2 separate regions of the Homo sapiens genome follow, and region 1 is linked to region 2. The links are contacts of gene promoters, found by promoter capture Hi-C in blood cells and fetal thymus (Javierre and others, 2016). All regions are on one chromosome and are shown on one strand. Each heading gives the region's core, a stretch centred on a gene start or on the middle of the fragment in contact. The rest is flanking DNA. Distances are from core to core; before and after follow the strand shown. Region 1 has its middle 25 kb from the start of IL36G. Region 2 holds the start of IL36B (interleukin 36 beta).

The links. Contacts are between HindIII fragments. The CHiCAGO score rates a contact against its expected background, and 5 or more counts as called.
Region 1: a contact is called between a fragment that was not itself captured here and the fragment with the promoter of IL36B in region 2, in 1 of 17 cell types (M2 macrophages). The highest score is 5.6, in M2 macrophages.

Annotation. Positions count from the first base shown.
Region 1 is chr2:112,949,733-112,956,788 of GRCh38, forward strand. No RefSeq gene overlaps it. Among named protein-coding and RNA genes, the nearest start is that of IL36G, 25 kb to the right of the region's middle. The HindIII fragment of the contact is 1,729 bases long and covers 4,592-6,320 here.
Region 2 is chr2:113,050,774-113,057,891 of GRCh38, forward strand. It overlaps IL36B (interleukin 36 beta), which reads right to left and starts at 2,094. Exons shown (of 5, transcript NM_173178.3): 1 at 2,044-2,094. The HindIII fragment of the contact is 9,836 bases long and covers 1-7,118 here.

The DNA of each region.
Region 1 (7,056 bases), core at 4,206-6,705, 98 kb before region 2:
TGACTTGTGCGTGAACGTTAATAGGTTCTGGTCACCCGAGATCCTGAACTGGAACAAGTGGGTTGTAAGATGAATGAAGGAATGACTTATAATTATTATGAAATAAAATGCTGGGCAAGGTGCTGCTGGCTCATGTCCGAAATCCCAGCATTTTGGGAGGCTGAGGCAGGAGGATTGCTTGAGCCCAGGAGTTGAAGACTAGCCTGGGCAACAAAGCACAACCCCTGTCTCTACAAAAAATAAAAAAGAAGATAGATGGGCATGGTGGCACACAACTGTAGTCCTAGCTACACTGGAGGCTGAGGTGGGAGGATCTCTTGAATCCGGGAGGTTGAGACTGCAGTGAGCTATGATTGCACCACTTCACTCCAGCCTGAGACACAGAGTGAGACCCTGTCTCTAAAAATTATCATAAAGCATTTACAATAATCATACAAACGCATAAGATACGAGTGGTACAAAAGTGCTTAGCGAGCCCACCGTGTTTTCTTGTTTTTTGTGTGGTGGTAGGAGAGGATCTTTAAAATTTTTGTTTTGCAAACATTTATTTCTTGACTTAACCCACTTCCACTATGACCACATAACTCACTGATTACCAAAAATCCCATAAATAATGATTTTACTTGTTTTTATTAATCTTTCTTAAATTCTGTATAACTCATATTTATTTTGATATTTAATATTAGAAGTGTTTTGTGCCTTTATTTACAAGTTTGATGATGTTCTTGTGACCAGAAACATGCTGTAAAACCTAACTCTTCTTCTCCTGCCTGGGCGATAGAGCGAGACTTCATCTCAAAAAAAAAAAAAACAAAAAACCTAACTCATCTTTATATCAATTAGCCTATGGTAAAATTGGTTTCACTGTACATCATTTTGCTTAAAGTCAAAGTTTCCAGGAACCTAGTGACATTAAGTCAGAACTTACTGTAATTTGATAACTTATATTTATGTTGGCGTGTACATATATATGTATCTGTAAAACCATTATGGCTGTATACATATGATGGGTAATGAGCATGTCCATCATCTCTTAAGGAATTCTCATTTCCGTTTGTAATCTCTTCCTGTCTGCAGGCAGCCACTGATCTTCTTTCTGTCACTATAGAAGAGCATGCAATTTATAGAGTTTTATATAAACAGAATCATACAGTATGTACTTTGTTTTGATCTGGTGTCTTTCACTCAATAATAATTTTGAATATCATTCATGTTATCACATGCATAAGTAGTTCTTCTTTTGTATTCTAAGTAGTAGTCTATCATATGGATATATCATGATTTGTTTATTCATTCACTTGTTGATGAAAATTACATGTTTACCCATTAAGTTATCAGTTCTGGATCTTTTTAGTTCCTTGCAGGGATCCAAATATTCACCTTGTATCATTTTCTTTCTGCCTAAAGGACTTCCTTTAACATTTCTTGCAGTGATGAATGCTAGTGATTAATTTTTTCGCTTTTGTATTCCTGAAAATAATTTTTTTATTTCACCTTTGTTTTGAAAGAAATTTTCACTAGGTATAGAATTATGGATTGATAGTTTGTTTCTGTTGCTGCACTTGTTTTTTTTTCTATTTGTAAATCTGCTGTCATACTTATCTTTATTTCTGCGTATATGATGGATATTTTGTTCTGGTTGCTTTTAAGATTTACTCTTTATCACTGATTTTGAACAATTCAATTCTGATGTTCCTTCATGTAGTTTCATCATGTTTCCTGTGCTTGGGTTCTTTGAGCTTCTTGGATCTGTGATTTCATAGTTTGTGTCAAAGTTGTATTGCTGGAGGGCTCAGGAGGGTCTCCGGATGCTGGTGAGTCTCCAGCCCCAGCCAGTGTCCACGTTCTTGACACCATCACGAGAAAGAATTCAGGGACAAGTCAGAGTGAAGTGAAAGGCAGGAAGTTTTTATTGCAAAGCAACAGTAGACACTTAAGGGAGAAGTATTGTCTCTCTTTATTTTGAAGTCCTGGGGTACGTGTGCAGGATGTGCAGGTTTGTTACATAGGTAAATGTGTGCCACAGTGATTTGCTGCACCTGTCAACCCATCACCTAGGTATTAAGCCCAGCATGCATTAGCTATTTTTCCTAATGCTCTCCCTCCCCCACCTCACCCCTGACAGGCCCCAAATGTGTGTTGTTCCCCTCTCTGTGTCCCTGTGTTCTCAGTGTTCAGCTCCCACTTATAAGTGAGAGCATGCAACATTTGGTTTTCTGTTCTTGCATTAGTTTGCTGAGGATCATGGCTTCCAGCTCATCCATGTCCCTTCAAAGGATATGATCCCATTCTTTTTTATGGCTGCATACTATTCCATGGTATATATGTACCACATTTTCTTTATCCGTTATATCATTGATGGACATTTAGGTTGATCCCATGTCTTTGTTATTGTGAGTCTATAAGGAGCTTAAACAAATTTACAAGAAAAAACAAACCCCCATTAAAAAGTGGGCAAAGGACATGAACAGACACTTCTCAAAAGAAGACATTCTTGCAGCCAAAAAACATATGAAAAAAAGCTCAACATCACTGATCATTAGCAAAATGCACATCAAATCCTCAACGAGATACTGTCTCTCATGCTAGTCAGAATGACGATTATTAAAAAGTCAAGAAATAACAGGTGCTGGCGAGGTTGCAGAGAAATAGGAATGCTTTCACACTGTTGGTAGGAATGTGAATTAGTTCAACCATTGTGGAAGACGGTGTGGAAGATCTCGAAGATCTAGAACCAGAAATACCATTTGACCCAGCAATCCTATTGCTGGGTACATACCCCCCAAAATAGAAATCATTCTATTACAAAGATACATGCACCCGTATGTTCATTGCAGCATTATTTGCAATAGAAGTGCTCTCTCTTAAGAGAGAAGGGCATGCTTGTAAGAATGAATCACACACAAGAGAATTTTGGTTTCTAGTTTTATGAGCGTTTCTTTAGTTAGGAAGTGAAATAGTCATAAGGTATTCTGGAAAAGGACAGGATTATAGGGACCTCCGAGTTATCACCCCCTTTCTCCTTTGTTTGGATGTGCGCAAGGGTCATGGACATGTCTCCTGGATCAGCATTTTGGCTGTTTTCTCTCCCTTAGTTTAGGTTTACTGTTATCCTTTGGTTTCTTTGCCTAGTTCCTGTTTTAACTGCTGTTTGGGTCTTTCCAGCCTCCTGTGACTACCCAGTGCTATTCCTATCTCAGTTGGAAATTTAAAAATCATGATTTCTTCAAACATTTTTTCTGCCCCTTATCCTCTGTTTAGAAACAAATAGAGGATAAGAGCTAAGTCTCTAAAGTTATTTTTTCTCTCTGTGTTTTTGTTTAAGATAGTTTATACTGTGCTGTATTCAGGCTCATTTTTTTTTATCTTATGCAATGTGTAATCTACTTTTAATCCCACCTAGTGTATTTTTATCTTAAATATTGTAGTTTTCAACTCTAAAAGTTCATTTTGGATCTTCTTATATCTTCTACATCTCTACTTAATATGTTTAATCTTTCACTTGTTGAACATACGGAGTACTTAGTAAACTGTCCTTTTCTGTTAATTATAGTATCTTTGCAAGTTTGGGTCAGTTCTGAAGTGTTGATTTATCTCCTTTTTATGGGTCATATATATATATGTATTTTTTTGAGATGGAGTTTTGCTCTTGTTGCCCAGGCTGAAGTGCAATGGTGCGATCTTGGCTCACTGCGGTCTCCTTCTCCCAGGTTCAAGCAATTCTCCTGCCTCAACCTCCTGAGTAGCTGGGATTACAGGCGCCCACCACCATGCTGGGCTAATTTTTATATTTTTAGTAGAGATGAGGTCTCACCATGTTGACCAGGCTGGTCTTGAACTCCTGACCTCCGGGTGAGCCACCCACCTTGGCCTCCCAGAGTGCTGGGATTACAGGCATGAGCCAATGTGCCCGGCCTTATAGGTCATATTTTACTGCTTCTTTGATGGCCTAGAAAATTTCAATTGAATGCTAGACATTGTGAATTTTACCTTGTTGGGTGCTAGATATTATTTTTGTGTTTCTAGATATTAATATTTTGTGTTTTTATAACTAGTCGAGCTGTGTGCTGGGATGTGATTAGGTTACTTGAATACAGTTTGATCCTTTCAGATTTTCTTTCAAGATGGGTTAGGCGGGAACAGAACAGCATTTATCCCTCTACTAAGGCAAGACACTGTGTACTCTACCAATGCTCCATGAAATATGAAGTTTTCCCACCTGACTGGTGAAAACTGCTCCTGGCCCTGTGTGAGTACTGGGACTTTCCTGTCTCTCTTTAATGTGCTTATGCTCTTCTCTACCTTCTTTAACATATAAAATAAATTAATCATAACCATTTAATGTCTGCTAATTTTATCATATGTATACTTTCTAGGCCTGTTTCTGTTGATTGCTTTTTCTTTTCATTATGAATAATATTTTCCCGCCAATTTTCAAGGCTGGTAATTTTTTAATGGATGCCAGACATTTTGAATTTAACCTTGCTGGGTTTGATCATATTTTAATATTTATTTAAATGTTCTTGAATTTTTTTCTGGGACACAGTTAAATTACTTGGACACGGTTTCATTCTTTTGAGGCTTCCCTCAAAGCTTTGTTAGGCATGTCCAGACAAAGCGGGCAGGCTTTAGTCTCAGTTAATTTGAACTTATTATTGAGGAAATATTCGTTTGAGTACTCCATATGCGTTACAAGGTTGTTCCACTCTGGCTGGTGGAAACATAAATGATTCCTGTCTTTGGGTGAGCTTTGGACATCATTCCTTCTGTTCTTTTCCACATATTGAGTAATATCCTTACATGTATGCACTGATCGGTACTCAGCTAGTGACGTCAGGGCAATCTTCTGCGGGTCTCTGGAGCTCTCGCTGTCTCTCTGTAAAGCTCTCTTTTTCCCTACAACTGTCTCCTCTCTGATACTCTTGCCTACATATCTGTGTTAGTGTTCCTAAATTTTCAACTTGGTTTTCTCAACTCAGGTGAACGCCAGTCTCTGTTGGGTTCTGCTTCTTTGTGCTGCAGCTATGCCCTTACTATGCCCCTTAGTAAACTGGGGCAATTCTAAGACTCAGCTCATTTCACCGCTTTTCTCAGACACGACTATCTAGTGCTGTCTGTTATCCAATGTGTAACAAACAATGCTTTGTATATTTTGTCTGATTCCTAAGTTGTTTAATGCGGAAGGGTGTATCTGAATCTTGTACTTCATCTTGGCTGGAAGTGGACAGAAGTCAATCTAGCCTTTGACTTTTGCCACCTATGTAAGAGTCCACAAATAATAGCATAGTGTTTAAGAGCATGGGCTCTGGTTACTAATTTGAGTATCATTCCTTTTTATTTATGTAACCTCTCCTTAATCTGTACCATGGAGCTAATAATTATATCTCTTCACATAATTATGACAGGGAGCATTTGAGTCAACTCCTAAAAACATAATTAGCCTAGTGCCAGACCCACAGGAAGTACCCAACACATGTCAGCTTTTATTAATAATTAAGCACTTTTACATGAGTGCTCTGGATATTTTTCAAAAAGCATCTTAATATTTTGGTGGATTTCTGAAATGCCATTACTGGGCCAATGCTTGGCTGTTTTAAATTTTTTTCTAGTCTCTTGTCCTTGGATCTTTCAAATCTGTAGCTATTAATACATGGCAGGCAGCCCTGCACACCTATGGCCACATTTCCACCTGTTCCCTGCAGCCAAGGAGAGGCCACATTAGTGCATCCACTGACTGTGCTCCTGATTAGGAGGGAAGGGGGCAGGTGATCCATGGAAGGACAGGGGCTAGAAAATCAAGTGTGAAACTCAGAGCCTTAAGCGAGTTTGTCAGCTTGGTCAATGGAAGATAATCCTCTGGTGGTTCCCAGCCCAGGCTATACATCAGAGTCACCCAGGAGGCATGCCATTGGACAGCAATCCCATTCTAGGAAAGTCTGATTCAGCTGTAAGAGGCAGAATCCTAGGATCTGTACCCTTTAAGCACCCTAGATGACAGCCAGGTTTGCCTTCTAACAATTCCTCACACCTGGTAGCACCTTGGATCTCTGTCCCCCAAACCCCATCTCAGGATCACCAGGCAAACTTTGAGAAATAGCAGTCCTGAAGCTCCATTCTCAGGGATTCGGGTGAACAAGTGCTATAGGTGATTCTGAAGAGCAGCTTGAGTTGACATCCATTTGTATAGGACAGAGTTTCTCAGGCTTTAACTTGCATCAGAATCACCTGGAGGACCTGTTGAAATAGATTGCAGGGCCCCATTCCCAGAGTTTCTAATTCATACATAGCTCTGGAGGACCTGATAATTTACATTTCAAACAAGCTTCCAGTGATGCTGATGTGCTAGACTGGTGGACGGCACTTTGAGAATGACTGGTTTGGAGTTTCAGAGTTCACAAGGCACTTGTACCTTCATTTTCTCTGTTAACCCTGAAGTCAAGCCTGCAAGGAGCCACAATGAGCCCTGACTTACGGGAGCAAGAGATAGAGGCTTAGGTGAAGTCACTTACCCAAGCTTTTCAGTCCTTCAGCCAAGAACCGTCTCACACTGACTGGGCGTGACAGCATCCTGGTGCAAGGAACTCAGCTTAAGGTGCTAACACTGCAGGTGGCTGTGGATGAACTCGGCCCTGTTACCTGTCACCAGATAATCCAGAAATCTGCTTTCTCCCAGAAACTCAAGCTAGGAAATTCTCCAGATTATCCTATTGGTGAATGTGGCTAAATCCTGGCCACCTTCCCAAGGAGTCTGTACTGCCGCTCCTGGTAGGTTCCACCCAAACCCTCCTGGGCCCCTTGAATCCTCTTCTCTGTCCCAGCCCATACCAGAGGCTCATTCATCCTTCATGCAGTTAATAGGGTGCGTTGGAGCCTCACTCTGTGCACCCTGGTCCAGGAATATCTGCCCTGTTTGCATATCTGGAGCCTTCAATGCAGCCAACACTGGCTCACTCTGAGAGGTGAGAGAATCACTGCTGTGCCCCGGCCCAAGTGGAGGAGGGTGGGGAAGGGAGGGCAGGACCCAGGGAGATTTCATGCAGCGGTGAACATTTAAAT
Region 2 (7,118 bases), core at 844-3,343:
CACACATCACTGAGAAAGCCGAGGAGAGCTGGGGCTTTCTCAGGGGTAGCCCTGGTGCAGCTCCCTTGCCTCGTCTAGTCCTGCTTTAGATGCTCGCTACTCGGGTGAGGGCTGCAGATCCTTGTGGAAAGAGACAGAAAAAGAGGAAGAGAGCTTGAATTGGAGGCCGTGCCTCTCAGCGTGGCCTCCCGATCCTTGAATCGGAGGCCGTGCCTCTCAGCCTGGCCTCCTGATCCTTGAATCGGAGGCCGTGCCTCTCAGCGTGGCCTCCCGATCCTTGAATCGGAGGCCGTGCCTCTCATCGTGGCCTCCCGACCTAGCCTGGTGGAGAGCGCCCCCTGCCGGTAGATCCTGGCCCGGCACACTGAGAGCGGCAGGCCCCGCCGGAGGGGCCAGCGCAGGACCGGGGAGAATGGAGCTCAGCCAGTGCCTAGCCCTGGGTTTATTTCCAGTTTCCTGCTGGAGAGCAATGGTCAAACTACACAGTCCGGCGGAGGCGAGTCCGCAGGCTCTGGAAGCCTCTGAGGCACAGACGAGGAAAGCGCCTGAATGTGGATCTGGGGTACAGAAGTTGCCGGTGGCTCTGGCCCTGTTCATGGGACTCAGTCAGCAGAAACTGTGGGTGTGACACACACCGGAGCCTCACCTGCCCTGTGGACTGCCCACACTCTCTCTCAGAGCCTCACCTGCCCTGTGGACTGCCCACGCGCTCTCTCAGATCCCGGCCTGTGCACCTGGCCCTTCCCCAGCCTCCCAGGCAGAGGGTGCCACGGGGCTGAGGGCAGGCAACAAAGCCACTGGCCTCTGGCTCAGCACCCAGCTGCAGCCCTGTGGATCCTGGCCCACAGCCTCCCCATGACTTCACTGGCATCCAGGGTTTCTCGAAAGCGCTATGAGCCAAGTGGTACCCTTCCCCTCTGATGTGGCTGGGTTGGAGAGGGAGTCCTGGATGCAGCTGGAGGTCCCCTTCTGCTCACGGCTCCCTGGAGGCTGTGTCTGTGCATGCACACCATCACTCCTACTCCAGGAAGGACTTTCACGGATGTCCTCAGCTACCAAAAGTCACTCCAGGGAGTGATAAATTCCGTCCAACCCAAAGTGTGCCACACTCTGCTATGGGGCACTCCTTTGTCTCTGCACCAACTCTGTTGGTTTCTATTATCTTCTCTCCCTCTCTCCTTTTTTTTTTTTTTGAGACAGAGTCTTGCTCTGTTGCCCAGGATGAAGTGCAGTGACATGATCTCAGGTCACTGCAACTTTCACCTCCTGGGATTCAAGTGATTCTCGTGCCTCAGCCTCCCAAGTAGCTGGGATTACAGGTGTGCACCACTATGCCCAACTAGTTTTTGTATTTTTAGTAGAGACGGGGTTTCTTCATGTTTGCCAGGCTGGTCTTGAACTCCTGGCCTCAAGTGTTCTGCCCGCCTCTACCTCCCAAGGTACTGGGATTACAGGTGCGAGCCACTGCACCTGGCTGGTTTCTATTATCTTCTTAGAAAGCCTGTTGGTCCTTTGTGCAGACTCCTTCATTCCCCCAGCCTCGAGCTCTGCCTTCTATTCCAAATGTGTGAATTTATAAGCATTACACAGCTTATTTTTCATATTGGGGAATGGGTGTGAATTAGTATGAAGTCAAGCTGCAAGAGTACCAATACCAGGTCCATCTCTTACTAGTTTTGTGACCTTAGGTGACTTAGCCTCTCTAATTTTCGTTTTGTCTTATCAGTTAAATGGGAATAAGCATAGCACTTACCTTAGAGGACTGATGTGGGAATGAGGCAACATAATAGCTATATTGCTTTTATCACTGTACCTGACAGAGTGAATGTGTAACAAACGTTAACCTTTCTTGTCAGCAAATTTAAAACCTCACAGCATATTCTGCACTCATTACGCCAGTCTGTTGGAGCTGAGTCCATGCCTTTTTCTCTCTGCGTTGGGAAAGCCATGCTAGCTACATGCATTTTTGGTCATGAACCAGTCTTAGATTTAAGTCAATGTAAATTTGGCCTTTGCCGTGTTCTTAATGTCTTCTTTACATACCTAGGAAAAGTGAAGGAGAGGTGAGAAAGACAGAGTGGGGAGGAACCCGTGTCTGTGGGTTTGTGCTAGATGCCAACCTGGCTCTTCACATCCTCTGTCTCATCCAGTCAAGCAGCCACACTGAGTCCCCCAGCATGAGAACAGCTTCCACAGAGCAGGAGATTCTGGGTCTGAAATGAGGAGAGAGCTCCAGTCCCACCAGTGCCCTAGAGCATACCTCAGAATGCTCCTTTCTCCTGGTGGGATCCGTGGAGTCTGCCTGCTCTTCCAAGGATGCCTCAGCCTTTTAAGTAAGGCCTAGGGAGGGGCCCTGAAACTACCAGGACCTGAGGAGAAGCAGGATTCTCAGCGTGATTTCACACCACCCTAAGCCGCCGGGAATACTTGCTGCTCATTATCTCTCTATTGGAGTCTCATGGAACACATTGTGGGAAGTGCTATAGAATTCTAGGGACATAGTGGGCACCAAGTGAATATCAGTTACTTTAATTATTACTAAATTTATCTCCCTAACAGGAATTTACTATCTTACCATAATAAACTCTGCTTACATTCTCATATAGGTGAATACACCTGCCCTAAGTCATCTCTACAGCAAGAGCAGAGGCCACATCTACCTCCAGGGTTATTGCCATTCTCACAAAGGTGAGGATAAGTCACCACAGGGAACATTGCTTCTCTGCAGGCTGTGACACTTTCCAGGGCATATAAAGCCCATGAAGAACTGAGATGTTTGCTGAGAAGAGAGCATACCCACCGAAGACAGTGGAAAATGAAAAAACAACAGGAGTAGAAACTTCCCAATAGTGATGTCAAACTGTATTAGTTACTAATTGCTGTGTAACAGCAAACCTAGCGACCTAAAACAAACAAAAAAATTATTTAACAAAGACAGAGTCGGGAATAAGAAAACTGGCTTGGCTGGAGGGTTCGGCTCAGGGTGTCTGATTAGGTTGTAGGAAAGATGTCAGCCAAGGTTTCAGTCATCTGAAGGCTTGACTGGGACTGAAGGATCTGTTTGTAAGATTGCTCACTCAGACCATTGGCAGGAAACCACAGTTTCTCACCATGTGGGCTTCTATATAGGGGTGCTTGAATATCCTTATTAGATGGCAGCTGGCTTCATCCAGGTGAGTGTTCTAAGAGCAAGGAGGAAACTGCAATGCCTTTTATGACCTGGTCTCAGAAGTGACATGCTGCCATGTTCACCATGTAACATACTCATTAGAAAAAAGTCACTAAGTCCAGTCCATACTCAAGAGAAGGGCAGTTAAACTTCCTCTCTGTATCAGTCTGTTCTCACACTGCTAATAAAGACATACCTGAGACTGAGTAATTTGTAAAGGAAAGAGATTGAATTGACTCACAGTTCCACATGGCTGAGGTGGCATCACAATCATGATGGAAGATGAAGGAAGAGCAAAGTCACATCTTACATGGCAGGAGGGAAGAGAGCTTGTGTAGGGGAATGCCCCTTTATAAAACCATCAGGTCTCATGAGACTTATTCACTAGAATGAGAATAGCACAGGAAAGACCTGCCCTGATGATTCAGTTACCTCCCACTGGGTCCCTTCCATGACATATGGGAATTATGGGAGCAACAACTCAAGATGAGCTTTGGGTGGGGACACAGCCAAACTATATCATTCCACCCCTGGCTCCTCGCAAATCACATGTCCTCACATTTCAAAACCAATCATGCCTTCCCAACAGTCCCCCAGGGTCTTAACGCATTTCAGCATTAACTCAAAATTCCACAGTCCAAAGTCTCATCTGAGACAAGGCAAGTCTCTTCTGCCTATGAGCTGTAAAATCAAAAGCAAGTTAGTTACTTCCTAAATACAATAGGAGTACAGGCATTTGGTAAGTACAGCTATTCCAAATGGGAGAAATTGGCCAAAACAAAGGGGCTACAGGCCCCATGCAAGTTCAAAATCCAGCGGGGCAGTCAAATCTTAACGCTTCAAAATTACCTCCTTTGAGTCTCTGTCTCACATCCAGGTCATGCTTATGCAAGAGGTGGGTTCCCATAGTCTTTGGAAGCTCCACTCCTGTGACTTTGCAGGGTACAACCCTCCTCCTGGCTGCTTTCATGGGCTGACACTGTCTGTGGCTTTTCCAGGCACACAGCATAAGCTGTTGGTGGATCTACCATTCTGGGATCTGGAGGACAGTGGCCCTCTTCTCACAGTTCCACTAGACAATGCCCCAGTGGGGACATTGTGTGGGGGCTCCCACCCCACATTTCCCTTCTGCACTGCCCTAGCAGAGGTTCTCCATGAGGGCTATGCCCATGCAGCACACCTCTGCTTGGACATTTAGACATTTCCAAACATCCTATGAAATCTAGGCGGAGGCTCCCAAACCTCAGTTCTTCACTTTTGTGCACCCACAGGCTCAACACCACATGGAAGCTGCCAAGGGTTGGGATTTACACCCTCTAAAGCCATGACCCAAGCTGTACCTTTGCCCTCTTTAGCCAAAGCTGGAGTGGCTGGGATGCAAGTCATCCCAAGTCCTGAGACTACACAAAGCTGCCAGGCCCTGGGTCTGGCCCATGAAACCATTTTTTCCTCCTGGACCTCCAGGTCTGTGATGGGAGGGGCTTCTGTGAAGACCTCTGATATGCCCTGGAGACACTTTCCCCATTTTCTTGGTGAAAAACATTTGGCTCCTCTTTCCTTATGCAAATTTCTGCAGCCAGCTCGAATTTCTCTTCAGAAAATAGGTTTTTCTTATCTCATCTTCATGCTGCATGTTTTCCAAACTTTTATGCTCTGCTTCCCTTTTAAATGTAGGTTCCAATTCCAAACCATATATTTGTGAATACATAAAACTGAATGTTATCAGCACCCAAATCACCTCTTGAATACTTTGCTGCTTAGAAATTTCTTTTGCCAGATGCCCTAAATCATCTCTTTCAAGTTCAAAGTTCCACAGATTTCTAGGTCAGGGGCAAAATGCTGCCAGTCTCTTTGCTAAAGCATAACAAGAGTCACCTTTGCTTCAGTTCCCAACAAGTTCCTCATCTCCATCTGAGACCACCTCAGCCTGGACCTTATTGTCCATATCACTATCAGCATTTTGGTCAAAGCTATTCAGTGAGTCTCCAGGAAGTTGCAAACTTTCCCACATCCTCCTATCTTCTTCTGAGCCCTCCAAACTGTTCCAACCTCTGCCTTTTACCCAGTTCCAAATTGCTGGGTAACAGGCAAAGTGTTAAAGTGCTGAAATGCCAATAGTGATGTCAAGGTGTGTTAGTTACCAATTGTTGTGTAACAAAGTATCAGCAAAGTTAGCAGCTTAAAACAAGAAAAAATTATTATTTAACAAAGGCTGAGAGTCAGGAATGAGAAAACTGGCTTGGCTGGAGGGTTTGGCTCAGGGTGTCTCATTAGGTTACAGGAAAGATGTCAGCCAGGGTTGCAGTCATCTGAAGGCTTGACTGGGGCTAGAGGATCTGCTTCTAAGATTGTGCATTCACAGACTGTTGGCAGGAAAAAATAGTTTCTCACCACGTGGGCCTCTCCATAGGGCTGCTTGAGTGTCCTTATCACATAGTGGCTGGCTTTGTCCAGGTGAGTGATCTAAGAGCTAGGAGGAAATTGCAATGCCTTTTATGATGCTGCCATGTTCATCATGTAACATAGCGCCCCACTCCCAGTATCAATTTACTATATCAGTCTGTTCTCATGCTGCTAATAACAACATAACCAAGACTGTGTAATTTATAAAGGAAAGAGGTTGAATTGACTTAGAGTTCCACATGGCTGGGGAGGCCTCACAATCATGGTGGAAGATGATGAAAGAAGAGCAAAGTCATGTCTTACATAGTGGCAGGCAGGAGAGCTTGTGTGGGGAAATTCCCCTGTATAAAACCATCAGATCTTGTGAGACTTATTCACTATCATGAGACCAGCACAAGAAAGACCTGCCCCCATGATTCAATTACCTCCCACTGGGTTCCTTCCATGACACGTGGGAATTATAGAAGCTACAATTCAAGATGAAATTTGGGTGGGAACAGAGCCAAACCATATCACCTTCTTAAAGATGAAGTTTCCAAGAATTTATGGACATATTTTAAAACAGCCACACATGGTTTGCGAATTGGCAGCATTGTCTTTAGGTAGTGCCAAAGTTTATTTTTCAGAAGTTCAAAACTTGACTCTCATACACACATATAGTGAGCATGTGTCAAAGATTTACTATTTTTCATAAGTGAGGGAATCAGCAAGATTATAAAGCTGATTATCAAAAGATAATTCAGGGAATGGAGGCTTATACCGTCAGTCAAGAAATAAAGGCTGAAATAGGTTGGCTAAGTTACGTTTTAAAGACAGCTTTATGACTTGTGAGGCAATAAAACTGCACCCTTTGGAGTTATCTTTTCTATCAGACAGGAATAATGTGTAATTTATCAATGTTCTCTTAGTTCATGGCTAATTTCACAGAGTCTGAGACCTAATTAGTAAGTCAAGCAAAGGGATAGGTCCAGAGAGAACTTATTGTTGGTGAGGCCTGTTTGATAATGTTTTCATATAATATTGACAGTATACACAGTCATAGTTTCATTTTACTTATTATTTATTTATTTATTGAGGCAGAGTCTAGCTCTCTCTGTCATCCAGGCTGGAGTACAGTGGCTCAATCTTGGCTCACTGCAACCTCCACCTCCCAGGTTCAAGCAATTCTCACACCTCAGCCTCCTGAGTAGCTTGGATTACAAATGTGCACCACCAACCCGGCTAATTTTTGTGTTTTCAGTAGAGATGGGGTTTTGCCACGTTGGCCAGGCTTGTCTCATTTCATCTTATTTCTACTGTCATTCCATTTGGTCAATTTGTAATTTAATAATTTTGTACAAGGCAGTTTCTACATTAATTTTATTTTTCTGAAAAGTGTCTATCATATTAGTGGCATTATGAAAATCGTAGATTATTTTCTGTGTTTTGAACAACTTGATATTTTATTTATTCTTGAACACTTGTAGGACCTCTTGGCTCATATGTCTGAATACCATTTCTTTAAAATGTACGCTTTAACATGTACACATATGTAACAAACCTGCAC